Linked DNA regions of Homo sapiens: regions 1, 2, 4, 5 and 6 are each linked to region 3. Evidence: promoter capture Hi-C in 16 types of primary human blood cells and fetal thymus (Javierre and others, 2016). All regions are on one chromosome and are shown on one strand. Each heading gives the region's core, a stretch centred on a gene start or on the middle of the fragment in contact. The rest is flanking DNA. Distances are from core to core; before and after follow the strand shown. Region 1 holds the start of BTN3A2 (butyrophilin subfamily 3 member A2). Region 2 holds the start of BTN2A1 (butyrophilin subfamily 2 member A1). Region 3 holds the start of H4C12 (H4 clustered histone 12). Region 4 holds the start of TRT-AGT2-1 (tRNA-Thr (anticodon AGT) 2-1). Region 5 holds the start of TRS-AGA2-1 (tRNA-Ser (anticodon AGA) 2-1). Region 6 overlaps LOC285819 (a long non-coding RNA gene).

Region 1 (4,269 bases), core at 658-3,157, 1.5 Mb before region 3:
AGAAAAGGGAGGTCCCAAACTTCCTGCTCCACCACCTATACCTGTCCCTCATGATCTGTTTCCTCTGATTTCAACAAGCAGGTGTTCTTTCTCCTGTCTCAGGCTAATTCTGCACCCACATCGGGGAGCCCCCACCCCAGCTTCCCTCAGGCTTCTCTATTTGGTCAATTCATTAATTCATTCATTTGACAAGGATCCATGAACGCTAACTATGTGCCAGTCACTATTCTAGGTGGTGGAGTCACAGAAGTGAACAAAACAGAAAGTTCTCATTCAAAAACAACATAACTTGTGGTAGGAGGCAGACAGGAAATGAAATAATTAGTAATATATATGGTGTGCTGGATGATGATAAGTGCTCAGGAGAGAAATAAACCTGGAATAGCAGAACTTGCATTTCTTTTTGAAGGGGTCTTGCTCTGTTGTTCAGGCTAGAGTACATTGGAGTGATCATAGCTCACTGCAGCCTAATTTTTTTTTTTTTTGAAAGACAGAGATCTTGCTATGCATACTGCCCAGGTTCTTGAACTCCTGGCCTCATGCAATTCTCCTCCCTCGATCTTTCAAGGTCCTGTGATTACACCTGTAAGCCCTCGTTCCCGGTTGGAAGTTACAGTTTAAAATAGGGTGGTTATGAGCAAGGGGAGCGAGGCACAGAATACTTGGGAGAAAAGCATTCCGAGTTGAGAGAACAGCAGTGCCAGAGCACAGAGGCAGAAGCACTGTGGTTTGTGTGAAGAAAAGCAATGAGGCTGGGGTGCGCAGAGCACACAGGGTGATCAGGAGAAGAGGAGGTGACAAGGCCAGAGGGGGTTGAGGGCCAGATCATGTATGGCCTTGAAAGTCATCATGCTGACCTGGGCTTTACCTCTGAGAGGGGAGCCACTGGAAGGTTAGAGCAGAAAAAGGACTGGACTGACTTATGTTTTAAGAAGTTACTTCACATGCTAGACCAAGATGGGCTGTGGGTAGGGGTGGTGGATGGAGGCCTGAAGACCCAGCTGGGAGCTACTGCAGTGATCCAGGGGAAAGATGCAGATGACTTGTACCAGGGAGGAGCCATGAAAATGTTATGATGCTGGATTTATTTTCAAGATAGAATAAAAAGGCTTTGCTGATAAACTTACAGGTGGGGTGTGAAAAAGGAGGGCATCAAGGGTGACCACAAGGTTTTGGTCCTAAGAAACGGTACAGATGGAGTTGCCACTTACTGAGATGGGGAAAATGAGGGAGAAACCGCTTGTGGAGGCCAGAGGAGGAGCCAGCACAGAATCCAAAGGTCAGTTTTGAATATGTTGGGTTTGAGGAGCTTACTAGAGATTCCCGTGGAGATGTAGAGTAGGCAGGTCAATAATAAGCTTGCAGTCCAGGCAACGGGTCAGGGCTGGAAACACAAGTTATTCTCTTTGTCTTCTTTATATTCATGTTTGTTGCCACTGTGTGTTTCACTTACCTAATGCATTCGTGATTTATTGCTGCATAACAAATTACCACAAACTTAGTGGTTTAAAACAGTACACTTTTCCAGCCTGGGCAACATGATGAAACCCCATCTCTACTGAAAACGCAAAAAATAAAAGATAAAAAATTAGCCCAGCGTGGTGGCACACACCTATAATCCCCGCTACTTGGTAGGCTGAGGCACAAGAATTGCTAGAACCCAGGAAGTGGAGGTTGCAGTGAGCCAAGATTGTGCCACTGCACTCCAGCCTGGGCAACACAGCGAGACTCTGCCTCAAAAATAAATAAATAAATAACAGTACACTTTTATCACTTCAGTTTCTGTGGGTCAGAAGTCCAGGCAGAGCTTAGTGGGCTTCTCTGCTCAGAACTTCACAAAGCAAAAGTATTATTCATGCATGTAAACCTCTAAGCACAATACCAACATCACGGTAGGTTCTATGTGAGTATAAGCTATTATTAAGAATAATAATCAATCCTCTTCCCTCTCCTCCATCCCTAAGGCCTCATCATTTCTTGCCTGGAGTGTCACAGTAGCTTTCTTCCTGGTCTCCTTGTCTTCTACCATCTGATTCTCTAATGAGGACTGGCTATATTGTGTAATCATAGCGTCATCATTCCACAGAATACAATGTAAATGGCACTCTTACTTCCCATCTTCCCTGGCACCTTTCACACTATTGTTTCCAATGTACACATTTTCTCATGCCATTTTTAAAAAAGATTTTCTCTTCACCTTCAAACTAAAACTCCAACTCCACAACAGGCACCAGCTGATACCGAACCTTTCATAATGGAAAATAATGACATTCATAAAGAGTTAATATGTGCAGGTGCTGTGCTAGGTTCTCCCCAAACAACTTAAGAAGCAGGTCACATCCCTACCCATAGCTGAAGAAACAAAGACATTGAGTGAGAAATGAACTTAGGGGTCTCATAGTTTGGAAACTACAAAGTTCAGAGATATGAAGAGTTGGGCTCAGAAACTCCTAATCTGAAGCTTAGCACATTGGCTGCTTCTTTGTGTCAAAGTGACTTGGACCCTCCAGGCAAAGGTGGGATGTTCATTCTTACTAATACGATCTCAAGCAGCACAGCTTCTGATAGAGTCTGAATTTAAAAATAAACAAATGAACAAATAAACAAATATTGATGGATGAATAGGGGTGAACAGCAGGATGGATTTATAATAAAGTAAGAAACTAAAATATTAATTATACAATCTACATGGTAGATATATTGGAATTTACTGAAATTCTTTCACCTTTGCTATATGTTTTAGAAGTTTTATAATAAACTGTTGGGGAGGGGGAAGGGGGAGGGAAAAATTGTGTTTTTCTGTTGATAACAGAGACCAGAAGTACCACTGGCTTAAATAAAACAAGGATTTGTTTTCCTTTCATGAAAAACAAACTTATTTGGAAATTTACCCTGAGTACTAATATATAATAAAATATTTTAAAAGAAAAAATTTTTTAAATAAATTTAGATGGTGACAGTCCAGGGCTGATCTGGCACCTCAGATATGTCATTCATGCCCCAGCCTGCTTCTGACTTCATTCTCTGCTGTCCCAGTGTGTGGCTTCCAACCTCAAGGCTGCCTCATGGTCCCAGGGTGGGCTACTGCACCTCCGGGTCCAAAGTCCATGTTCTAGGCAAGAGGAAGAAGGAAGAAGGGAGAGTGTACCCTCACACTCCCAGCTATTTTGGCCTCCCTTTGAAGGATTTCTGGGAGAAGTACAAGCCCACAACTTTCACCTACAAACCGCTGGCTCCAACTTAGTCCCTTGGCCTGCCCTATCTTCAAGGGGGAAGAGCAGGATGCAGTACCCCAGAAAATTAGGCCTTGTCACTAAGAAGAAGGGGGCATGCACGCTGCAGAAGCAACCAGCCATCTCAAGCAGATACCACACAGCCTAAATTCAAACTGTTGCAATATAATCAAATCCCATCAGCTCCAGTCACATATTAGCTCTAGGAGATTTCTGGCTTGCAGCCCAAAAAAGTGTGTTTTGAGGTCGTAAGCCACAGGGAGAACAAGATTGTCCCATAAACTCCTTACAGAGATGGTGTACAGGAAACGAGCCTTACAGAGACCACAGCCTATGGAGTGTCTAGCTTCAGAGAATATGTACTCCACTGGCAGCGTGAGAAACAAATACCCAAGAAAATACAATATAGCACAAACCAGGAGCTGAGGGTGAATGAAGATGCTCAGAAAGATCTGCAGTAAGAATTTCCTGGGAAAGGTAAAACAATGTCAAGCAGCACTGCCTCTGGAAATCAGAAAAATTATATTATTTGATACCATATCCTAAGCCTAAATGCCAGAAGTTCTTAAAGAGGTGCAGTTTGTCTCATTTTCTTTCCATTCATACCTTTATTAGGCTCTGTAAAAAAGATCCTCCTCTTCTACGTACCTATCTACATGCAAGCAAACTGCCACAGAAGCATCTTAATTAGTGCACATCTTCCTCTCTTTGCACATTAAATTTTTTTACTTTCCTACTCCATTCTGCTAATATTTCTATTACCATGTAAAAGACACGAGACAGGTGAATATAAAGAAATACTTATATACATCCACGCACAAGAATGATTCAAATAGATAAACACAGAAACACAAACACTAAGGGAGGTAGGGCTGGAGTTTTTCCTCAACGTGTACAATTCAATGTACTTTCAGTTTTCATTTCAACGTTCCTCAGTGGTTTCTGCCCAGCAACTGATGAGAAACATCACCTCTGAGCCAATCAAAAAACTAATTCTTCCAAAGAGCGACTCTTACTGTTTCTCATGGTGAGAAGA
Region 2 (4,383 bases), core at 27-2,526, 1.4 Mb before region 3:
AGAGCTTAGAGCTGGGCCCTGTAAGGTGAGAGGAATCACATCCTGCAGAAGTCTGTCCTGAGAAGCAGGTACTCCTGTCACAGCAGAGACACAGTGGATACCTGAGTAACAATAATACAAGACAGGACGTGGGAACAGCAAAAGATTTGGGTGTCAGAAGAGGCCGAGAACACTTCAGGCAGGAACATTCAGAGTTGTTCTTGGAGGAAGTAGGCACGAAGGCTGGGCAGGATTTCACGGGGCAGAGATGGAGCAAGCAATTGAAATGAAAGCCATGGCATGGGAAAAGGAGCACTGGCCACAGGGAGTGCAACGTTGTGATGCAAGGCCACTGTGGAGCCATTGCTAGCGTATTAACTGCAAAGTTTTGAATTGAATCAGAAGGGAATTGGAGGCCTCCAGACTAAGCATTTAGACACTTGAGGGGAATATTGACAACTGGGCCTCGGGAAGATTATTCTGGAAGATATCTTTACAATTACAAGATTGGAGCCTTTGGGAGAGGGATGATGTTTACGGGAGGATGGTATGTGTGCTAGTGTGTGTGTCTGTGTGTGGCTCTTGGACCCAACCTGACCACCTACTATCTAGAAGGTGAAGGACAACTAGAAAGTTTTGCTCAATTCCATCTTCTGCCACCACCAGAATGCCACCTCCCTGAGGGAAAAGGTTTTTGATCCTCAGTCAGGATTCTCAGCACCTCTTATCCGATAGCTTTGGAATGAATGGCAAGGCCTTCATAACAGCCACTGCAACTGCTGTCTCCTTTCCTTTGCTACCCCTCCCGCTCCAGCCATGCCAGCTTCCCCCAAGCCCTCCTGCGCTCCAGGCCCAACCTCCAAAGCCAGCAACTTGAACAGGAGTCCTCTGGCTTTGGAAAGGGGGCGGCTTACGTTTTCCTGCTCATGTTTCCTCCCCAGCAAAATTGCCCTCTACATAGAGAGGCCTCTCCTTGTGGACACCAGCAAAGCCACCGACCTCAGTGACAAACCCCAGGGAATCTCCCCAAGGAATCTCAAAGCGAGAGAGAGAGAGAGAGTCTTGAGAGAGAAAGAGAGAGAGAGAGAGTCTTGCTTTCGAACAAAGAAAAAGGAAATAAAAAGACCCGATAATCTCAAAAGGTTATTTGCTGCTTGAAATTTGTGATTCGGTGTATTCTACCCAGCAACTGCTGAGAAATAAGGTTCGACACCATTGGCTGGTTCACTCACACCCGGCCAATCCTGGGCTCTAAAATACTTAGGGAACTCTTGGGACTGTGGAAGCCCAGGAGACCAGATTTCGTTTCCTGCATCTCCAAACATGGCGACCTAGGAGAAGGGGAAGAACAATTTTTTCTCCTCTTTTGGGAAGGTTTGTGTCTAGTAGTGCCTGTGCCCCTGGGCAGATTGGAGAGAAGAGGGACGACTGGAGAATCGTCGAGAACCAGCGGAGAAAAGAAAAAGCAACGTTTAATTCTAGAAGGTAGGAAACGGAGGGGAGGCGCTACAGCTCCGGGGTGGGCACAGTAGGTGGGGGAAGCGGGGTCTGCTGTGGACACGAGACGGGGTCCTGGGACAGGGAAAGCCCACCGGTGGGGAGGCGCGGCCTCGCCTGTCTTTGCCTCAGGCTGCCCGGCCTGGGTCGCGGGGAGGAGGAAGTGAAGGGAGGAGGGTGTGGTAGAATCCAGCGACAACTGAAGAAACTGCATTCTGGCCAGAGAAGTGAGCCGAGGAGGGCGGAAAAAGGCCCCCTTGATCTTGGCATTGATGGCTTACTTCATGGAATGTTTAAGGAATCCCTCTCTCGGGACATACCTGAGCCTTCGGATGCAGGGGACTCCCTGAAGTTGGGGCACTGATGAGACCTACTTGAGTGACGGGAGAGGTTGGGCCCGACCAGCACTGAGGTGCCAAGACTCCTAGGCTGATTCTCCTCTGTAACCCTAGGCCTCCTGTCCCTGCCTGCTCTGGGTGCTCATGGAATCAGCTGCTGCCCTGCACTTCTCCCGGCCAGCCTCCCTCCTCCTCCTCCTCCTCAGCCTGTGTGCACTGGTCTCAGGTAGGGATGTGTGCCACTTGCTGCTGTCACCTATCAGAAAGGAACATCAACCCTGTAGTCTGCAAAGGGAAAGAAAGAAGGACTGTGGAGTTGTTGACTTACCCTTTCATTCTGAACATGTTCATTGAATTTATACCAGCACTGTCCAAAAGGAATACAGTGAGGCACAAAGGCCGAGTGCATGTACAATTGCAAATTTTCAAAAAAAATTAAATTTTACTTTTTATTTTAAAAAGTAAAAAGAAACATGAAATAAATTTGTATACTATATTTTGTTTCGCCCCAAATAATCAAATACGAATATTTAAATACTTAGTTAATATACCATATTACCAATGAGATAGTCAACATTTTGAAATTTTAAATCTTCATAATCCTGTGTGTATTTTACACTTACAGCTCATTTCAGTTGGAACTAGCTAGTGGATATGTGTCCTATTGCACGGCTCAAGTTTACAGTACACTCAGGCACAGCACTAGATTGGGAAATCGAGGAAAATCCCCTCAAGGGCACAGGGTGGACAGAGGGTGCTCAGGGCAGGTTCCTCAGGGTTTCCTTCATGAAGCAGAAGCACACTTTATAGTTACTGCTCCCAGGGGTGCTGTCGACTAGCCACAGCTACTGGTCCCCAGATTTCTCAGCCCAAAGAGACCCTATGGCCATGGAAAAAATAAGTTTGTCCCTAGAATATCTGCTTCCTTTCTTGCCTTAGAGATGTGATGGCTGGTGTCTTTGTCTGACTCTACCCCTTTGTTGAACAGCCCAGTTTATTGTCGTGGGGCCCACTGATCCCATCTTGGCCACGGTTGGAGAAAACACTACGTTACGCTGCCATCTGTCACCCGAGAAAAATGCTGAGGACATGGAGGTGCGGTGGTTCCGGTCTCAGTTCTCCCCCGCAGTGTTTGTGTATAAAGGTGGCAGAGAGAGAACAGAGGAGCAGATGGAGGAGTACCGAGGAAGAACCACCTTTGTGAGCAAAGACATCAGCAGGGGCAGCGTGGCCCTGGTCATACACAACATCACAGCCCAGGAAAACGGCACCTACCGCTGTTACTTCCAAGAAGGCAGGTCCTACGATGAGGCCATCCTGCACCTCGTAGTGGCAGGTGCGTCGCTTCATTTTGCTTTGTTACTTTGGCACAGTGTGACTTTGGGGAAAGTTTCTCTCCTAACCTCAGGCCCATTGCAGACCAGCAAATTTTTGTCTGGACTCCCTTTTCCACTCTCCCTGTGGAAACGGAATTCCAGGGAAAAATCCTTCCTCCTGCACAAGGGACACATGAGTGGGTTTGCCCTGCTAAGCTAAGGGCTTCACTTCTTGAGAAGCACATGCAGAATTCAGCTGAGGCCGTGAGCAGGGGAAAATGGTCAGTCTCGGAAGAGAAGTCTTATACCTGCCTTAGGATTGAACTGTGCACTTCTTTTGGGTTTTTTTTTTCTTTTTGAGACAGAGTCTTGCTCTGTTGTACCCTCGCTGGCACGATCTTGTCTCACTGCAACCTCTGCCTCCCAGGTTGCACTTCTGAGAGTGAGAGGAGACACTGTCAATAATTGTTCCAAGACAACTGGAATAAACTGATTACCCAGAGAACTACAACATATCAAATCTTATTTCTTGATAAATATTAATCTTTACTTCATCTTTCCCAAAATGCTGATTGCAGAGAGAGTGACTTATTGTAAATAGATGGTTTTATTAAACCAAGACGAAATACAGAAGCAAAATTATATATAGTTCCTGCTAACTCCATAGAGAAAGACTACGAATTTTGCTGGGAGGTAATAGGGAAGCCTTCCACATAAAAATGCATTTAAACTGGGATTTCTAGGAATTTGTTAAAATGACATTAAGTGATTACTTCAGTTTTGGGGTTAGTGTATTATGCTTTAAAAGATATATTTGGGCTGGGCGTGGTGGCTCATACCTGTAATACGAGCACTTTGGGAGGCAGAGGCAGGTGGATTACTTGAGGCCAGGAGTTCGAGACCAGCCTGGCCAGCATGGTGCAACCCCATCTCTACTAAAAATACAGAAACATTAGCCAGGCTTTGTGGAGTGTGCCTGTAATCTGAGCTTCTTGGGAGGCTGAGGCACAAGAATTGCTTGAACCCAGGAGGCAGAGGTTGCAGGGAGCCGAGATCTTACCACATCACTCCAGCCTGGGCGACAGAGCAAGACTCTGTATCAAAAATTAAACAACAACAAAAAAGATATATTTGAGGACTGAAAAAGCCTTTAAGGTGCAGGATAATCTGTGGTGGCATTTCACTCCATCAGACCAGACAGAGGAGGTGAGGACTAGGGAATTGGGTCTTTCCCTGGGGGCCTCAAATCATAA
Region 3 (4,619 bases), core at 1,353-3,852:
GCCATCGCACCAGGCCAAAAACACATTTTTAAAGTTAAGACTTAAATGTTGTTTTATAATTTTACACCACCAAAGTGATGTGACACGGTGAAAAATTTAAAGCACAATCATAAGAAGCAGATTATTTGCAACCAAATCTGTAACAATAATATTCTACTTGTGGGATCTTGGGTTGAGGTGCATATGCTCTCTAAGCCTCGATTTATTTTTGTAAACAATTATGTGATGATGATAAAAATAGTTCCCAGCTCTAAGGGTTGTTGTAAGGATTAAATGAGTAGGGCCGGGTGGCTCACGCCTGTAATCTCAGCTTTTGGGGAGGCAGAAGTGGGAGGACAGCTTGAGCCCAGGAGTTGGAGACCTGAAAAAAAAGACAAACAAGTGTAAATGAATTGGTAAATAAAAAACACTTAGAACACTGACAACAGTAAGTGCAGTGTGAAACACTTAGCATTACTTTTATGCCAAATTCATAACCTGTAATTGCATCTGACCATCATCCCTGGGTAAGAGCAATCTTTTTTTTTGTTTTGTTTTGTTTTGTTTGGCGACACTCTGTCACCCAGGCTGGAGGGCAGAGGTGTGATCTCGGCTTACTGGAACCTCTGTGTCCCAGGTTTAAGCGATTCTCAGCCTCAGCCTCTCAAGTAACTGGGATTACAGGTGTGTGCCACCACGCCCGGCTAATTTTTTGTATTCCTAGTAGAGACGGGGTTTCAACACATAGGCCAGAATGGTCTCCAACTCCTGGCCTAAAGCTGTCTGCCAGCCTTGGCCTCCCAAAGTGCTGGGATTACAGGCATGAGCTACTGCATCGGGCCCAGAGAGCAACCTTTTCTAACAGCCACATTTTAGTACTCTAGATTCAGCCAGGAGTTGTGTAATTAAACCTTTGTCTATTATGAAATCATAGGAAATACCTGTGTCAAGTGCATTTTTTCACACAATTTTTGCAAATGGAGACATCTTCATTATTCCTATAGTATCATATGTTTTTAAAGTTTGTACTCACACTTTGGGTGATAAATGAAGGACAAGATCCTTCCCTATCCTTGTGAGGATGACTACAGCATGACTGGATGGGCTTGCTATGATTTTTATCTTTCCCTGTGTTCTCACTACCGTTTTATTAATCTCAGTTCTTTTTCACAGGGTAGCACAGAATTTAACTAGCAGAAAGAGATCCAGCCATGTAGACCAGAGATTTGTCTAAGTGACGGCATGTAAGAATCAGGAAGGAAAGTTTTTTGTTTAAATACCAACAGGTTCCTTCCTTAAAGCAATTATTATTTTTCAAATCTAACCCACAAGGTGATAGTATCCTTAAACCAATTAAATCAGAATCTCGGGTTGGATAACCTCAAATATGACTTATTAGCACTTCCCATTAATCACTGGTCCTTCAGGCCTTTAAGTTTACTTACTAGGAATCTCACTTTTAATACCATCTTATCAACTTCAGTTGTAAATAAGAGAACACTCAAAGGCTGAGGAATTCTCAGCGGTAAAGCTCTGCCCACGTTAAGTAACAAAGGATAAGTTAGTCTTTGTTGTGATCACTTTGTTGTACTGATAAGCTACGTATTTCTACTCAAGGATTCAAATTCTCACCTTTCTCAAGAATTGGGCCAAAACCGATAAACTAAACTTATTTACGGTCCACTGATTAAAGGTTGTTGCATAATAAGTTCTTGCTATGTTCAGCAGTTGGATTCACAGCGCCAGAAACCTATAACTGCTTGACTTTCCTCCCCACTACACTGCGAAAATTGCCCCTTAAATGTAACTAACCCTAAAACCTCAACAGTATCGTGGCCAGGCGTGGTGGCTCACTACTGTAATACCAACATTAGGCATAGGCGAGGGGATTGAGGCCAGGATATCGAAACTAGCCTGGGAAACACACGGAGACCCGGTCTTTGGAAAAATAATTAGCCTTGCGTGGTGGTGGGCGCGAGGTTCCGGCTAATCGGGAGGCTACAGTGAGCCATGATGACACTGCACTACAGTCTGCGCGACGGCCCATGTCAGTAAGCTCTGGAGCACCTGAAACAAGTTGTGTTGGGTATTTTATTTACTGGAGAGCGATTAGTGACTGATGCCTACTTACAGCGACTAGAGACGCATGCTCCGATAGCAGCACAAACTCAGCAGGCGCGAACAAATGGTAAAGAGAAACTGGGCAAACAAGCATCACGGCTCCTCAGCTGAGAAAGTGGGGGCCCTAAAAAGGGCCTTTTGTTGATAGAAAGGGACGCTCAACCACCGAAACCGTAGAGGGTGCGGCCCTGGCGCTTGAGCGCGTAGACCACATCCATGGCGGTGACCGTCTTGCGCTTGGCGTGCTCTGTATAGGTCACGGCGTCCCGGATCACGTTCTCCAGGAACACCTTCAGCACCCCGCGAGTCTCCTCGTAGATGAGGCCGGAGATGCGCTTCACGCCGCCGCGGCGAGCAAGGCGCCGGATGGCCGGCTTGGTGATGCCCTGGATATTGTCGCGCAGTACTTTACGGTGGCGCTTAGCGCCGCCTTTGCCAAGACCCTTCCCGCCTTTGCCGCGGCCAGACATGACGAGCAAGAGGAGTCTCACCCAACGCTTTGTGAGGACTCTGGCCTGAGGCAGCGCCTTTATACGACAGTTGGCGGACCGAACTGAGAACCTGAAAGAAGTCGGCGGGAAGTCCCGCCCCGGTGGGGGAGGGGAAATCTAAAGGGCCAAACCGAAATAGGGGGAAAAAAAAAGCGAGCTTCTTGTTTCCGTGTTCTGAATTTTGTAACGTGCATAGTATTTTGTTACCACGTTATGAGGCTTTAAAAAATTGCTTTTGAACGCAGAAGATATACATCAATACTGTGGGAAATACAAGAAAGGACAAGAAATTAAGAAACTACAATGTTATCCCATCACACAGGCTAGTTAATCATGTATTTTGCAGAGCAGTTGCACATATTTTTCCAAGAAAATGTATACAGTGTTGTATATGGAGTTTTGTAACCTCCTTATATTGATTATAATTTAACCAATTTCTATTAAAGAGATAAAAGTGATGTTTTGGTGTCTATGTTTCTTAGGAATTATCAATAGTTATAATCAGTTCCCCAGCAATTTTTTAATCGGCTGTATTTTAAAAATAATGTTTTCCACATTCAACATAAATGTACTTTTTCTCTATACTTGGGACCAATATTGAAATTTATGATTTTATTACACCAAAATTTAAATTTTATTACATTAATATTTAAAATTGTATTAGAGGTCTCATGATTTGGTACTACGGGTCTCCGCATTATTTCCTTTCCAAATTTCCTAATCTGTTTCACCAAGGTTTCTGGACAACTTTAGAGACCTTTTGTGAAGTTTGAATAAAATCTCTTCGAGATTTTGATAATTGCATTAGCTTTAGGACTTAATTGGAATAGAATTAAAATCCTTAAAACAAGCTCTTATAACTAGAAAATTGGTGTTTGTAGGTTTTGTGTGTGGGGTTTTTTTTTTTTTTTGGAAGGAGTCTCGCTCTGTCGTCAGGCCGGAGGGCAGTGGTGCAATCTCGGCTCACTGCAACCTCCACCTCCCGGGTTCAAGCGATTCTCATGCCTCAACCTCCGGATTAGCGCGGACTACAGGCATGCGCCACCACGCCCAGCTAATTTTTTGTATTTTTAGTAAAGAACAAGTTTCACCATGTTGGACAGGATGCTCTTGATCTCTTGACATCGTGATCCGCCCGCCTCAGCCTCCCAAAGTGCTGGGATTACAGGCGTGAGCCGCTTCGCTTGGACGCTTGTAGGTTTTTAAAAAGACACTTTTATATGACCCAACTAAAGATTTGTTATCAACCATTATGGAGCAACTTTGATTCCGTATATTTGATTTTCTTTCTTATTAATAAATACAGGGTTATACTCTGAATTTTTTTTTTTTTTTTTTTTTTTGTGGAGACGGAGTCTCGCCCTTTCGCTCAGGCTGGAGTGCAATGGCCCAATCTTGGCTCACTGCAACCTCCACCTCCCGGGTTCAAGCGATTCTCCCACCTCAGCCTCCCCTGAGTAGCTGGGATTACAGGCACTCACCACCACGCCCGGCTAATTTTTTTGTATCTTTAGTAGAGACGGGGTTTCACCATGTTGGCCAGGCTAGTCTCCAACTCCCGACCTCGTGATCCATATGCCTCGGCCTCCCAATGTGCTGGGATTACAGGCTTGAGCCACTGCGCTCGGCCACTCTGAAATTATTTTAACATCAATGAAAATTATAAAACTCCTATAACTATTCTAATATAATCTCTTAGTATTCAATTCTTTGTTTAGAAAGTAGTTAAGAGTTGAAACTCTGGAAATAGAAAACTTTGGTTTTAGATTAAATGTTTACCTTTCAGACTCGAGCTGACTTGTTACCGATCAGACACGAGGTGACTTGTTTATTCTTTTTAAATCTTTGCTCATCTACAAAGTTAGAATAGGATAGTGACGGTACTGTTGGGGTGCAGAATGATTCCCCAAAATGTGGTTCTTGGGCATGCTGAGCGCTTTTGAACATTGAAAGGCCTCAGAAATAAGCTTCAGAATCAAAGCCCCTCTAACTTCGTCTTCTTTCCCATACATGCGAAGGGACTCTGAC
Region 4 (4,818 bases), core at 1,129-3,628, 1.3 Mb before region 3:
GGAGAGAGAGACAGTAATTTATGATAAGGAATTGGTTCACACAATTATGGAGGAGGCTGAGAAGTCCCACAATCTGCCATCTGCTAGCTGGAGCCCCAGAAAAACAGGTAGTGTAATTCAGTTTGGGTCTCAATCAGGCCTGAAAGCCCCGGGAGTCAACGAAGTAAATCCCAGTCCAAGAGCAAGAGGAAAAAAAATGAGATGTAAATCAGTGGGGTAGGGGGAGAAGAGGTGAATTCCTCCTTCCTCAACCTTTGTTCTATTAAGGCCCTTAACAAATGGGAGGGATCATACCCGGGAGGGCAATTTGCTTTACTGAGTCCCTGATTCAGATGATAATCTCATCCAGAAGCACCCTGAGATAAGGTCTCGCTCTGTCACCTAGGCTAGAGTGCAGTGGCACAACCAGGGCTCGCTGCAGCCTCGATCTTCTGGGCTCAAGCATTCCTCCCACCTCAGTCTCATGAGTAGCTGGGACTACAGGTGCGTACCACCACACCTGGCTAATTTTTAATTTTTTTTTTTTTGTAGCGACATGAGGGCCTCACTATGTTGGCCAGGCTGGTCTCAAACTCCTGGGCTCAAGCGATCCTCCTACCTCGGCCTCCCAAAGTGCTGGGAGTACGGGCATGAGCCACCAAGCCCAGCCAGAAACAATGTGTAATCTGAGTATCTAATGAACCACTCTAATTGACACATAATATTAATCATCACACTGCTGTTGGCCAGGCCCTGTGCTGGTCTCTGGAGATACAGCAGTGAAGAGGACAGGCACAGCCCTTGCCTTGAGAAGTAAACAGGCTAGCTCAGACAGATATGAAGCAAGTAGATGAGCATCGCTACTTAGAATGCAATGGGAAACACAGTCCCTTCTAGCTCCACCTGCCCATAGGAGAACCTCAGCAGCTGAGCTAGAGGCCCTACTTAATCCACAACTTGTAAATTCAAATGCTATCCAAACTGCTTTGGTAAGGCATTGTCTTTTTAAAAGAAAGCATGAAACACCTGACACTTATCAACTGCCAAGTCAAATGTTCTCCGCCTATCTCCAGACAAAAAACAGTTTTAAGACTTGCACATACCCTCACCTAACTGCTTTCCACTTATCTGAACTGAGCATTCTCTTCCTCACCTTTAGTTACACACTGTTCCCTTTGCCCAGGGCATCTATTCTACTCCTCCCACGTCTATCCTCTTTCCTTGACAAGTTCTGTGTCTCCCTCATGGCTCAGTGTGGGTATCACTTCTTCCATAAAGTCTTCCTTCCACCTTCGCCCAATCAGGGTTTTTGTTTGTCTGTTTTTCTGTTTTGTTTTGTTTTTTTCAGCCTCAACCTCCTGAGCTCAAGAGATCCTTCCGCCTCAGCCTCCCGAGTAGCTACGGCTACAGGTACACACCATTATGCCAGGCTAATTTATTTTATGTAGAGATGTGGTCTCACTATGGACTATGTTGCCCAAGCTGGTCTTCAGCTCCTGGCTTCAAGTGATCCTCCTACCTTAGCATCCCAAAGTGCTGAGATTACAGAGGTGATCCCCACTGCACCCAGCCCCACACAGACAGGTTTGTTTTCAAATGAGGCTGCAGGCCAGCGCAGTGACCCATGCCTGTAATCCCAACACTTTGGAAGACCTAGGCCAGAGTATGTCTGGAGCCCAGGAGTTGGAGAACAGCCTGGACAATATTATGAAACCCTATCTCTACAAACAAAACAAAAATCACCTGGACGTGGTGGCAGACCCATAGTGGCACACACTGGTAGGCCTAGCTACTCAAGGAGGCTGAAGCAGCAGGATTGCTTGAGCCCAGGAGTTCAAGACTGCAGTGAGTTAGGATTGTGCTATTGCACCCCAGCCTGGGCAACTGAGCCAGACTCTGTCCCTAAAAAAAATAAATAAATAAGCAAATGTGGGGCCGAGCGTGGTGGCTCACACCTGTAATCCCAGCACTTCGGGAGGCCGAGGCAGGTGGATCACTTGAGGTCAGGAATTCGAGACAAGCCTGGCCAACATGGTGAAGCCCGTCTCTACTAAAAATACAAAAAGTAGCCGGGCGTGGTGGTGGGTGCCCGTAGTCCCAGCTACTCGGGAGGCTGAGGCAGGAGAATCGTTGAACCCAGGAGGCAGAGGTAGCAGTGAGCCAAGATTGCGCCATTGCACTCCGGCCTGGGCAACAGAGCGAGACTCCATCTCTAAATAAATAAATAAATAAATAGGCAAGTGTGGCTCAAAGCACCCTGTACTCCCAATAGTATTACATCCCACTATACTATAACTGCCATTAAATTGTTCTCCCTTCCCATCAGCCTCTTCACCCATGTGTGATTAGCATGGTAACTGCCACATAGTAATTGGCCATTGACAAATAGCCACTCACTAGACAAACAAGCATCTGATTGCAAACCATTTCCACTTTTACACATAAATTGTTTCCATGATGTATCCATATATGGAGAACTAGGAAGACATAGGCTTTTGGGAAAGATAGTGAGACTCATCACCTGGAATATTCAATAGCTTCAGTAGCCAGTACCACTACTGCCAACTCAGTGTACAGACCATGCAATCTGTTGAGGGCCACTTGGCCACAAGCCTCCTATAAAGGTATTTCTGGAGCTGATGGAGCAGGAGAGTGGAAATGAGGCAGGATTGGTAAGGGGATGAATTAGTGATTTAGTGTTGACATCTGCACCAGTGACCCAGCCTGTCTTATCATTTGAGGGAAGTTTGTATCTGGGCCTAGGGAAAAAGAACAGAAGATAGAAGGCTCTAGTGAAAAAAAAGAAGGGTCTGCCTTTCCATTGGTGCTTGATGTTTATAAAGAAAAGTGGGGAATTGGCCGGGGGCGGTGGTTCACACCTGTAATCCCAGCACTTTGGGAGGCCGAGGTGGGCAGATCACCTGAGGTCAGGAGTTCAAGACTAGCCTGACCAGCATGGTGAAACCCCGTCTCTACTAAAAATACAAAAATTAGCCGGGCATAATAGTGGGCGCCTGTAATCCCAACTACTCGGGAGGCTGAGGCAGGAGAATTGCTTGAACCCTGGAAGCAGAGGTTGCAGTGAGCCAAGATCACACCACTGCACTCCAGTCTGGGTGACAGAGCGAGGCTCCGTCTCAAAAAAAAAAAAAAAAACAACAACAAAAAAGAAAAGTGGGGAATTAAGCTGCGGAATGGGAGTAGAAAGTCTCCATAAAAGTAGAGTTGCTTCTGAGCTGTTCCTCCAAGTGTTGGGATTTTGTCTCCAGAGCTAGAACAGGAAATCATATTGCAAGCCTTGACAATCTACATAAAATAATATGCTCTGAAAGCAAAAGCCAGAGAAGTGGAACTTTCTGTGCCAGGTGAGCTGTGGGCTGGGTCTTGGGAGATGGGTGAGAGGGTTGGTAATAGTTACAGTGAACTTCCATTTCCTTGGTCTTGTGTTTCTATGTGGAGAACTTCTGCTAAGAGTAAAACTGACTTCTTTCCTACTTCTCAATTTCTCTTTCTTCCTCTTGGAGAGTTTGGGAGAAGGCATCTCAACCCTTCCTGGACTTCTTCAAGTCAGCCTGTTCTAGTGGGCCCCATAAGCAAATGGAGGCTTCTCTGACAGCTTCTTTTCTCAAGTCTTGGTGACAAATATTTGTTTTTGCTTTGATTTGTTCCTTTCCAAAAAACTCTGAGTACAATGCAATCTTTTTAAATAGCGAATCACAGCTTGTTTTATGTGGCCAGATCTTACTGTTTGCTGTGAATTTTCAGAGATGCTACAGCCTTCTCAACAACAGATTATGAATCATTCCAAAGATTGACCTTCTAAAAACATTACCTGCAGATTCTGACAATGAATCTGTTTAGGATTTCCCCAGGAAAGAAAATAGAATGACTAGAGATTATGATGTTGCTTGTAGTTTAAATTTGGTGTTTGCCTTCTGCTTTCCCTGGTTCCTCTCGTACATGTTGTAAGATATAACATGTGGAAGAAAAGTGTAAGAAAAGCAAGAAATTCAGAATTTCATTATTCTGAAAGAAAGCCAAATTTATCTTTGCTTCTTTTTCGTAAACAAGGAGGTTTCACACCGGACGCATATAAAACACTTTGATGGAGCCCCATAGGGGAAAATAACCTTTCACGCATACTTCAACTGTTCCGTGGGTACTTTGAATGCAGGAAAACTACAACAGGCCCCGCTGGGATTCGAACCCAGGATCTCCTGTTTACTAGACAGGCGCTTTAACCAGCTAAGCCACGGAGCCACCATGCCTGCGGTGGTACAAATGAGCATAGAAAAGAGATGATCTTTGCCTTTGTTCTGTGCATTGATACACTTTCTTGTTACTGAGGTTTGAAAGTAGCTACACGCTTCTTCAGACACTGAAGATTAACCTTGGCTTCGCCCCAAAAGACCTAAGAAACCGCTCAGCTGCAGGATAACGAGGTTTTTCGCGTGGGGGAGGTGGGGGGTGAGGGAAAGGCTGGCGATAGCCTGACCCCCGCCCCGGGGCGAACAGGAGAGTCCTCCGAGAAACTGCCTCAAATAGCAAGCAGCTCATCCTAACGTGGATAAAGTATGACCTCGGGCTTCAGGGAGAAGAGGGTAGGAGAGCGGGTAGCCAGCCACATTTACAGAACACTCCTCCGAGTCGTGTAATGCATTTACACCAGAACACTTACGGCACCAAGAACTGATCTAGCAGGAAGGAAGCTATTTGTTTCTTATTTCATGGCTTTTAAATTAAACTGGAATTAGATTAAAATTCCAGTCATTCCTTACCCCATTTCTTTCCGTTAAAACTGGGCTCCACCTACCTGCTTCTTGCTTATTAAAGATTAAC
Region 5 (4,473 bases), core at 1,016-3,515, 1.5 Mb before region 3:
ATCTCTCATCAATGCCCTTCCCAGTACCCCTCCAAAAAGCAATGTTTCAACTAGAGGGAACTTTCTTCAGTTTCTCCCATATTCCTTGAGGTTTAGGTTTGGAACACTACCCTACCCCGTTTTCTCACCCCACACCAATTTGTCTCATTTTAACACATCCTTCAGATCCAGATCTGAGCTTAAGTATAATTCATTCCAAAAATACTTAATTAAGCACCTATGGAGGACTCAGAGGTAAAGAAGGTAAAACTAGAACCTTTCTTCGTGAAGCTTGGAGTCTAAGTGACCCTCCAGGCAACCACCTAAAACCTTTGTGGTTGAGATCCAGAACTCTTTCTGTGGGCTACTTACTGTGTTAGGGCTGCACTTCTCACTTGCACTCAGTTGTTTTATTGTTAACTTCTGTAATCCTTTAGAAATCTCGCTCTCCATTGAATGAGCAGTACCTAGCAAAGTGCTTGGCTTTTGCTATTTCACATAAAAAGAATTTGAAAAAAATAGGCAATTCTCTGTCTCACTACCCATATACAAAGTGCTTATTTTTATTCTAAAAAAATAAAATTTTTGGAAGAATGAATAAATGAATATATTATTTAAGGGATCAGGAACTGGAGGCCAAAAGACTAAGAAGTTGTTGCAATAACTTAATGAGAAGTTTCTCATGAGTACTTCTAAGTACCTAAACTAAGTACCTCATTTTAAAAAGTGGTCTGAGTAGCTGGGCATGGTGGCACGCGCACCTGTAATCCCAGCTACTAGGGAGGCTGAGGCAAGAGAATTGCTTGAACCCGGGAGGCGGAGGTTGCAGTGAGCCAAGATCGTGCCACTGCACTCCAGCCTGGATGACAGAGCGAGGCTCCGTCAAAAAAAAACAAAAAAAAAAGGTGGTCTGAGGGCTGGGGAAGAAGAGCCAGATTTGAGAGCTAATTAGAAGGTTGAATTGAGGGCCTGCTGGGAAGGGAATCAGAGAGACATAAAAGGACAAGGGTAGTCTTCGGTCTTGGTAGCCAGTCTTCGGTTTTGGTATCTCATCAAAAATTTGGATTGTTGGAGGAAATTTAAGTTTGAGGAAAATGATGGAACATTCCTTTGGGGTTGCATTGCTTTTGAGATGCCCATGGACATGCAAGAAAAAAAAATAGGACAACTGTATATTCTGGAGCCCAGAGGAGAGAGATCTGGAGTAGAGACGATTTTCAATCCATCCGCACATGAGCAGTAGTTCATCAATCATTCCTTACCCTTCTTCTGTTCATAGAGTTGGGCCATTGATGAAATACAGAATCCCTGACTTGCTCACTAATACTCACACACACACACACGCATAGTATTGTGGTAATGGTAGTGCAGTTTTAGAACCTGGGGTTCTGCTCTTCCTTTGGAAGTGGTCTTTGAATATAATTTCAAACTATTCACAGAATATCAGATGCAGTTGTTCTTCCCCTTGTGAGAGAAGGCCCCATAAACGAAAGAGGATTTGACCAGCAAAAATATTTTTTACTTTCTAGTTTCTTTCAGAAATGTTCTTTCAGCTGGTTAAAATATTCTGAGTTTTATGAAAAGACAGAAGCCTATCTTCACTGAAGAACCTTTTGATGAATCTAGATTCTGGGGTTTTACAATGATAGTTACAATTGTACTGACATTTGTTGAGCCGTTAGTATATCGCAGGCACTGGACTTTGTCAGAAAATATAGGGGATCTCTGTGGAACATCAGTGTTATTTACTGAGGATAATTTTCTTTCTTTTTATTTTTTTAATCTATTTTTTATTTTTTTTTTACCCCCGAGACGGAGTCTTGCTCTGTCGCCCTGGCTGGAGTGCAATGGCGCGATCTCGGCTCACTGTAAACTCCGCCTCCTGGGTTCAAGCGATTCTCCTGCCTCAGTCTCCCGAGTAGCTGAGATTACAGGCGTGCACCACCACCTTGGCTAATTTTTTTGTATTTTTAGTACAGACGGGGTTTCGCCATGTTGGGCAGTTTCAAACTCCTGACCTCATGATCTACCCGCCTTGGCCTTCCAAAGTGCTGGGATTACAGGCGTGAGCCACCGCGCCCGGCCTGAGGATAATTTTCTTACTAGGCAAAAATATGAGAATTGTAAAAGTTGTTGAAACATATTCCTGATTTGCATTATAAAAAAGACCCAAAGAACATTCTTAGCGTATCATGTATGTGCCTGAATTTGAAGTTTGTTGATTGCTTCCAAGTTTTATTCTTAAGATACGAATTCAGCTATTATTAAATCCCTAATAAAAGGAGTACAATATGTGATGTATGGAAACATGTAAGACATTTAATAAGGTTTTTGGTATCTGTAGTCGTGGCCGAGTGGTTAAGGCGATGGACTAGAAATCCATTGGGGTCTCCCCGCGCAGGTTCGAATCCTGCCGACTACGGCAGTGGGTTTTTGCATCTTCAAGCAGGTTTCATCCGACCGATCGATATTTCACGTGTAAAAAGGCTTTCGATCTTTTACAAGTTAACATCAAAATGGATTTCTTGGGGATTCAGGGCAGGACAATTTCAATTTATGTCTCAGAGGTCCTCAAAATGGATTTCTCATTGCCCAAAGTAAACCTTATCTCTGATCTTTTACAAGTTACATCATAATGGATATTTCATTGTTCAGGAAGGAATCATTGTGCACAAGGATGGATTTCTCATTACCCACGAAGGAATCATACTTCATGAGTAAAACAAGTCAAAGGAACAAATAAAACTATATTTTGTTTTAATTGGAGGGTTTTGGGTTCAAAATCCTTATGATCAGAAAGAAATAAAATTTCATATATTCATGTATAGGAGGACGCGGTAATCCCAAAACGTTTTTTTCTATAGGTATAACGCCTGTCTTCGTTCGTCAGAGGGCCAGTGGCGCAATGGATAACGCGTCTGACTACGGATCAGAAGATTCCAGGTTCGACTCCTGGCTGGCTCGTTCGACTTTAGTGGAAACTTTGAGGTTTACATAAATGCCCCTTCCCTGGGCACTCATATACATTTTATGTATTTTATCATTTTAATTTTTAAAAGAATTACACAAGATGACAAAAATTTTTATAATATAGACTCCAGCTTCAGTTCACTATTGTTTTACATACATAAGAGTTTTTTTTTTTTAAATCACATCACTAAATTGATAAGTTTCAGAACTGACCAATTTTCACATTGCTTGATAAAACTTAATACAGGGGAATTTTTTTTTCTTTTTTTGAGATGTATCACTGTGTCGCCCAGGCTGCAGAGCAGTGGCGCGATCTCAGCTCACCGCAACCTCTGCTTCCTGAGTTCAAGCGATTCTCCTAGCCTCAGCCTCCAGAGTAGCTGGGATTACAGGCATGTGCCACGACACCCAGCTAATTATTTTTGTATTTTTAATAGAGAGGAGGTTTCGCCATGTTGGCCAGGCTGGTCTGGAACTCCTGATCTCAAGTGATCAGCCCGCCTCGCCCTCCCAAAGTGCTAGATTACAGGCGTGAGCCACCACGTCCGTTTGGGAAAACCTTGTGTCATTCTGTGAGAGTTACGATTGAGAATTCACAAACAGAAAATTTCTAGATAGCAAACAATTTTGGTTTCTTTTCTATCCTTTTCGCATACTCATAATTTCAAGAATCACTTGAAACAAAAATCAAGTCTCTTCTCTGCTCCCTGTCCTCTAGCAATTTTTAAAGTTATTGAAACATATTCCTGATTTGCATTATAGAAAACACCCAAAGAACATTCTCAGCTTACCACATATGCGCCTGAACTTGAAGTTTGTTGATTCCTTCTAAGTTTTGTTGGCAGGACGTGAACTCAGCTATTAAATTCCTGGTAAAGCGAGAGGTACAATATGTGACATATAATAACATGTACGACGTTTAAGAAAACTTTTGGCACCTATAGTCGTGGCTGAGTGGTTAAGCCTACTTTTTAAACATTTAAATAGCTTATTTTAAAATTATTTACCTACATATCTCTAAATAATATGTTTGTATGGACCTTCTGTTGACTTTATATAAGAGGAGTAACTGGTTCACTTTCTTCTTCACACCCCAGGACCCCCGACACACACATGCTCCCTTTCTAAGTCTTCTCATATGGTTATAGCACAATACATGATACTTTAATATTTGTAGCTTAAAATATGACAACTTTATAAACATAATTCAACAAGTGGGCAAAGAAATACATTGTTAAGTTTTCCTTTCCTTGCAATTTTTATTTTTCCCCGGCATTAGTACATAACTGTCTTTTCTTGTTGTTTTACTGCTTAAGCTTCTAGACACTTTTCATTAATTCAACCCCAAGCATTTCGTCAGTTGTCTAAACATTTCTCCAAAAGTTCAAAAGCTTTGCACAGTCTGTAGATTTCATCCTACTTTAAACATGTCTCCTTATGCATCTGTATTAGTTTGAGTAAACAGAAAAATAAGAACAGGAAAAAAAGTGTCACCTACAGCCTGCTCAAATCTGGACATGTTAC
Region 6 (4,650 bases), core at 891-3,390, 1.4 Mb before region 3:
GCTTATACCCACGTTCAGCAGTTCCTGAGCTCTTGTACCATGCCCAAGAAGAATGAGGATACACTAGACGTTGAAGGGTGAGGAGGGCTGAGAAGAATTTTATCAAGCGACTGAACAGCTCTCAGCAGAGAGGGGATGCTGGCACCCCTACCTGAAGGCAGGAAAGCTCCCCCTGTGTGGCTGGGTCCAGGCCTGTTTTATGGACTCAGAATGGGAAGTGTGTGCTGAATGGTTTGTGAGTATGCAAAAAAGGTTAAAGTGAAGACACCACTCAAAGATGGCCACAACAGTGTAAAAAAACAATTAGGAAAGTGTGGGTATATGGAAAGTAGTTGAAGGGTGGGGACCAATCAGAGGAAAGTGCACCAAACAGGAAGACAAGTTCTCAACAAGTTCTCAATTTGGGCTGAGGATTTACCTTGTAGTTTGGCTTTCAGGCTTTAAACTGTCTTCAGCTTGGAGGTGGGGTATCACTGGGGACCCATTGCTACCTGCCTAGGCATCTGACTGCCTCCTGTCTGCTATCACTAGGTCCCAAGGTTTGTAGCAAGGACCCCTTACAAAGACATCCCCCACAGTCTACCCAAAGGTTAACCTTAGAACATATTTCATTGTCAGAGTGAGAAACAAATACACATGAAAATACAGTATGGCACAAATAAGGAGCAAGAGGTGAAGAAAGCTTCAGTCACACCCAAAATAATTTTGTGAAAAATATAAAATATGCAGTTATAGACAGCACTAACTCTGGATACCAGAAAATTCTATAATTCGGTAATGGATCTGAGACCTGAATTTTGGAGGTACTAAAATAGATGCAATAGATCTAGTTTTCATTATGTTCATACTTTCATTTGGCTCTGTGGTAAAAGATGATAATATCCAAAACAAAAGATGATAATATCCTCCATGTAACAATTACATGCAAGGGGATGTCTGCAAACTGCCACAGTATCATTTTAATTAATACCTATCTTCTCTTCTTAAAATCTTTTCATTTTTCCACTCAGTTCTCCTGATATTTCTGTTATGATATAAAAGACAGCTGAATGTGAAGAAACACTGATTGTACACGTAACACACACATTAATGATTCAAATATGTAAACACAGAGAGCTGCAAACACTTTGAGAGGTAGGGCTGAAACTTTTCGTCAATGTGTACAATTCAATATCGTTTCAGTTTTCATTCTAACCGTCCCCAGTGGCTTCTGCCCAGCAACTGATGAGAAATGGTACCTCTGAGCCAATCAAAACACGAATTCCTACAAAGAGGATTCTCTTAGTGTTTCTCGGACCGAGTGTACAGCACATGCTTTCTTTTCCTTTATTCTGGATCAGAGAATCTTAACTAAAGCAGAAATAATTGTGTTAAATTAAACTAAATTTGGTATGAGATATGTATACATTTAGCCTGAGGGATGGCTCTTGAGCCCTTAAATAATGAACTGCAACCTAACTTAGTATGTAAACTAACTGAAAGCTTAAGGCATGGGAGTATACTTTTGTAACAAATAGCTGAGTCTCAGCCAATCCCAGTAGCCGAACTTCAGTCGGCGGCAGTCAACCCTGCAGCCAAGTGATCAGACTATGTTCAAATAAGGCCAACTCTGAGCTGTAACCAATTAAGCTGTTTCTGTGTGTCACTTCCCTTGTGGAATGGAGCTCACTGAACCTCTCTGATGGCTGCCCGATCGTTCTGATGGTTTGCAAATTGTTCTTTGTTCAAATTAAACCCTGCTAAATTTAATTTGTCTAAAGTTTTTATTAACAACAGAAAACTATTGATTACCTTTTTTTGTGGGCTATGATTTTCAGATAGGAATATTAAGGAGTAAGTGGGGAAAATTGCTTAGAGCCAGGGCTACAAGGCCTGGAAGAAAAGGGACTGAAAAGCTGAGAGGGGAACTGGCACAGAGAAAGGGGTGAGGATGGAGAGGGTAGAATGCAAAGAGTAAGGACCTGAAGAGGCTGAGATTTGGCTGAAGAGGGACAACCTGAATAGAGAAACCTTCCAACTGCATGTTCTTAGGAACTAATTACAGTCAGAAAGGAGCAAAGACTCCTTTTTTTTTTTTTTGTCAGAGTCTCACTGTTGCCCAGGCTGGAGTGCAGTGACACAATCTCGGCTCACTGCAGCATCCACCTTCCCAGCCAAGCAATTCTCTGGCCTCAGCCTCCGGAGTAGCTGGGAATACAGGCATACGCCACCACACCTGGCAAATTTTTTGTATTTTTAATAGAGACGGGGTTTCACCATGTTGGCCAGGCTGGCCGGCCAGGCTGGTACTGAACTCCTGACCTCAAGTGATCCACCCACCTTGGCCTCCCAAAGTGCTGTGATTACAGGCATGAGCCACTGCCCCCAGCCAGGAGACGAAAAGACTCCTAAAATATCTCCTGGTTATGTTTAGGAACATATTCCAAAAGGTTCTAAAAAGAGATGTGCCTTAAAGATTCATATGTATATTGTAAATTTTCAACTCCATATTTTCTAGATGTCCCCAACATCCCCACAACAGCCCGTCAACACCCTGCCCAGGTGACCAAGTACACCAGTGCAACAGGGCTGGTTCCTGCCTGCTTGCCCTTGCTTAACTGTGACCTAGTGACCTCCTCCCATCTTTTGATCTTTATTCCTCTAGTTCACTTCCTTTGTCACTATCTCTCCACCCACACCTACTTGCCTTAATCACCTTAACAGCAAAGGCTGAATTATTGTAAACAAAAGGAGTCTGTCTTTTTAGTGCATGGGTCCCCAAGTATGTATATATGAATATGCAATGAACCCCAGGATACTAAGCTTCACTTAAGGATTTTTTCCTACAAGGACTCAGCTGTCACATTTGGGGGCATTTTGTTTTGTTTTGTGAATGTTTAACCAAGCTAATGGAGGAACTATTGGTACAATGAACTCAAAAAATGTACAGGATCAGCAGGGCATAGTGGCTCACGCCTGTAATTTCAGCACTTTGAGAGGCTGAGTTGGGAGGATCACTTGAGCCCAAAAGTTCAAGATCAGACTGGGAAACATAGTGAGACTTCATCTCTAAAAAATTAAAATAAAATAAAATAAATACAAGGAAAAAAGAAAAATGTACTGGATTGAGGGGAAAAATTTATGATGCAAACAGAAGAGCATTTATGATTGAAGTGAGAGAAGGATAATGGGGGAGGATGGTGAAAGAACATCAATCTAAATTTATATTTAAATTTACATGAATCCAGTGCAGGCAGCATCTCAGGGGAGGGAGGAGTCTATTTTTCTGTTGATTTCCTGGGCTAAATTCCTGACTGACTCATTGCTGAAAGTAAATAACATATTATTATAGTTGAAAGATTTTTTTTTAGTGTAGTGATTTCAAACTGTGCTCATTTATATGCAACCCATGAACGCCTCCCTTCTCCTATGTCTCCTTTTGAGTTGTAGGGCCAGTTTGAAGCTTTATATATCATTTACCAAACTTAGGGTGGTGAGTGGGTGCTGATGGCAGCCTGGTTTGAAAATCTCCACTGGAGAGAAGACACAGCAGGATTCAGATGCAAATGACCAGAGCACTCCAAGTTGGAAAGAACTGCTGAGCGGGTCTGTAGAGCCCATCGCTCTCTCCTGTCTATTCATCAGCTAGGCTGAAGCTCCTGACAGACTCACACCAGTATCTTGCTGCTCCAGAAAGGTCGAAGATGGCAGTTTTCCCAAACTCCGGCTTGCCCAGATGTCTGCTCACCCTCATTCTTCTCCAGCTGCCCAAGCTGGTTTCAGATAGGTCTCTCTCTCTGGCCTGCAGAGTTAAAACATCTCAATAAATATAAAGTATAAAAAGAAGCTGGAGCCCAACCACTTCGGCACATGTTCACAGGATCTCGGGGCTGTGTCACAAGCCACTGGGCACTCATATCTGGCTGAGAATAAATCTCTTGCAATATTTTACAGAGTTTGACTCTTTTTGTTTGACAAAATAAATTCAACTCATAACTGCTGAGTTTGGGCTCTGGGCTGTGGAGTTGTCTGGAAATGGGTGCTGGGCTCCCACTGCTGCCTTTCACTCAAGGCCCCCAGATATAGCAACCATCTCTTAGTATGTAAAGATCTGATCTCAAATCATCAGGAGCTTCCAGGTTATTTCATTTTCCTTTTTTTCTCTTCTTTTCACCGATGTTTGACGTCCAGGTTATTTCTAAGGTGACAGAAAGAAGCAGAACACTTTCTTGTGCCTGATTGATCAGTTGATGTTTTGTAGGCGATAGGATTCAGATAGTAACAGTCCTCCAGTGCGTCCTTCCCACTCTCATTTTCTTCCTCCTCCTCCTCACATCTCAGCCCCAGAGGCCTATTGAAGAATTTCTATTCATTTTACAAAGAAGCTCCTGAAATTTTTATGTTAGTTTTGTCTTTTTATTTTCCTCCTTCTTCTTCTTCCTCTTTTTCTTCTTCCTCTTCTTCTTCTTCACACCACTATACAAAGGAGGAAGTTTAGTTTTGTCTTTTACTTTAAATTACACAAGATTTTTTTTTCTTTCTCTCTCTGTCTCTTTATTATTTTAAATTGTTTGTAGAGATGGAGTCTCGCTCGAACTCCTTAGTTGGCTCAAGTGATCTTCCTGCATTGGCCTCCCAAAGTGCTGGGATTACAGGTGTGAGCCACCGTAC

What was found. The method cuts DNA at HindIII sites, captures the fragments that hold promoters and counts their contacts. A CHiCAGO score of 5 or more calls a contact.
Region 1: a contact is called between a fragment that was not itself captured here and the fragment with the promoter of H4C12 in region 3, in 2 of 17 cell types (fetal thymus and activated CD4 T cells). The highest score is 5.9, in fetal thymus.
Region 2: a contact is called between the fragment with the promoter of BTN2A1 here and the fragment with the promoter of H4C12 in region 3, in 4 of 17 cell types (neutrophils, naive B cells, monocytes and 1 more). The highest score is 6.7, in neutrophils.
Region 4: a contact is called between a fragment that was not itself captured here and the fragment with the promoter of H4C12 in region 3, in 4 of 17 cell types (monocytes, M1 macrophages, naive CD8 T cells and 1 more). The highest score is 8.2, in monocytes.
Region 5: a fragment that was not itself captured here is called in contact with the fragment with the promoter of H4C12 in region 3 in 6 of 17 cell types (monocytes, non-activated CD4 T cells, activated CD4 T cells and 3 more); the score reaches 9.5 in monocytes.
Region 6: a contact is called between a fragment that was not itself captured here and the fragment with the promoter of H4C12 in region 3, in 8 of 17 cell types (fetal thymus, activated CD4 T cells, total CD4 T cells and 5 more). The highest score is 8.6, in fetal thymus.

The regions. Positions count from the first base shown.
Region 1 is chr6:26,360,958-26,365,226 of GRCh38, forward strand. BTN3A2 (butyrophilin subfamily 3 member A2) reads left to right here and starts at 4,241. Exons shown (of 11, transcript NM_007047.5): 1 at 4,241-4,269. RefSeq lists enhancers at 69-118, 4,199-4,248. The HindIII fragment of the contact is 1,103 bases long and covers 1,357-2,459 here.
Region 2 is chr6:26,456,679-26,461,061 of GRCh38, forward strand. It overlaps BTN2A1 (butyrophilin subfamily 2 member A1), which reads left to right and starts at 1,277. Exons shown (of 8, transcript NM_007049.5): 1 at 1,277-1,464; 2 at 1,929-2,040; 3 at 2,803-3,150. The coding sequence starts at 1,959. RefSeq lists enhancers at 888-1,147, 1,308-1,467. The HindIII fragment of the contact is 11,033 bases long and covers 1-4,383 here.
Region 3 is chr6:27,828,958-27,833,576 of GRCh38, forward strand. It overlaps H4C12 (H4 clustered histone 12), which reads right to left and starts at 2,603. Exons shown (of 1, transcript NM_003541.3): 1 at 2,217-2,603. The coding sequence starts at 2,570. The coding sequence ends at 2,259. RefSeq lists enhancers at 2,054-2,163, 2,087-2,912. The HindIII fragment of the contact is 8,845 bases long and covers 1-4,556 here.
Region 4 is chr6:26,528,752-26,533,569 of GRCh38, forward strand. TRT-AGT2-1 (tRNA-Thr (anticodon AGT) 2-1) reads right to left here and starts at 4,239; the gene lies at 4,166-4,239. RefSeq lists a cis regulatory region at 3,953-4,706 and a silencer at 4,122-4,211. The HindIII fragment of the contact is 5,099 bases long and covers 1-4,818 here.
Region 5 is chr6:26,325,270-26,329,742 of GRCh38, forward strand. It overlaps TRS-AGA2-1 (tRNA-Ser (anticodon AGA) 2-1), which reads left to right and starts at 2,320; the gene lies at 2,320-2,401. It overlaps TRR-ACG1-1 (tRNA-Arg (anticodon ACG) 1-1), which reads left to right and starts at 2,871; the gene lies at 2,871-2,943. LOC101928743 (a long non-coding RNA gene) reads right to left here. Exons shown (of 3, transcript XR_241992.5): 2 at 3,741-3,818. The HindIII fragment of the contact is 3,995 bases long and covers 269-4,263 here.
Region 6 is chr6:26,472,693-26,477,342 of GRCh38, forward strand. It overlaps LOC285819 (a long non-coding RNA gene), which reads right to left. Exons shown (of 4, transcript NR_038992.1): 3 at 3,460-4,650. It also overlaps a transcript of BTN2A1 not described here. Among named protein-coding and RNA genes, the nearest start is that of BTN2A1, 17 kb to the left of the region's middle. RefSeq lists enhancers at 1,143-1,192, 4,249-4,650. The HindIII fragment of the contact is 1,320 bases long and covers 1,481-2,800 here.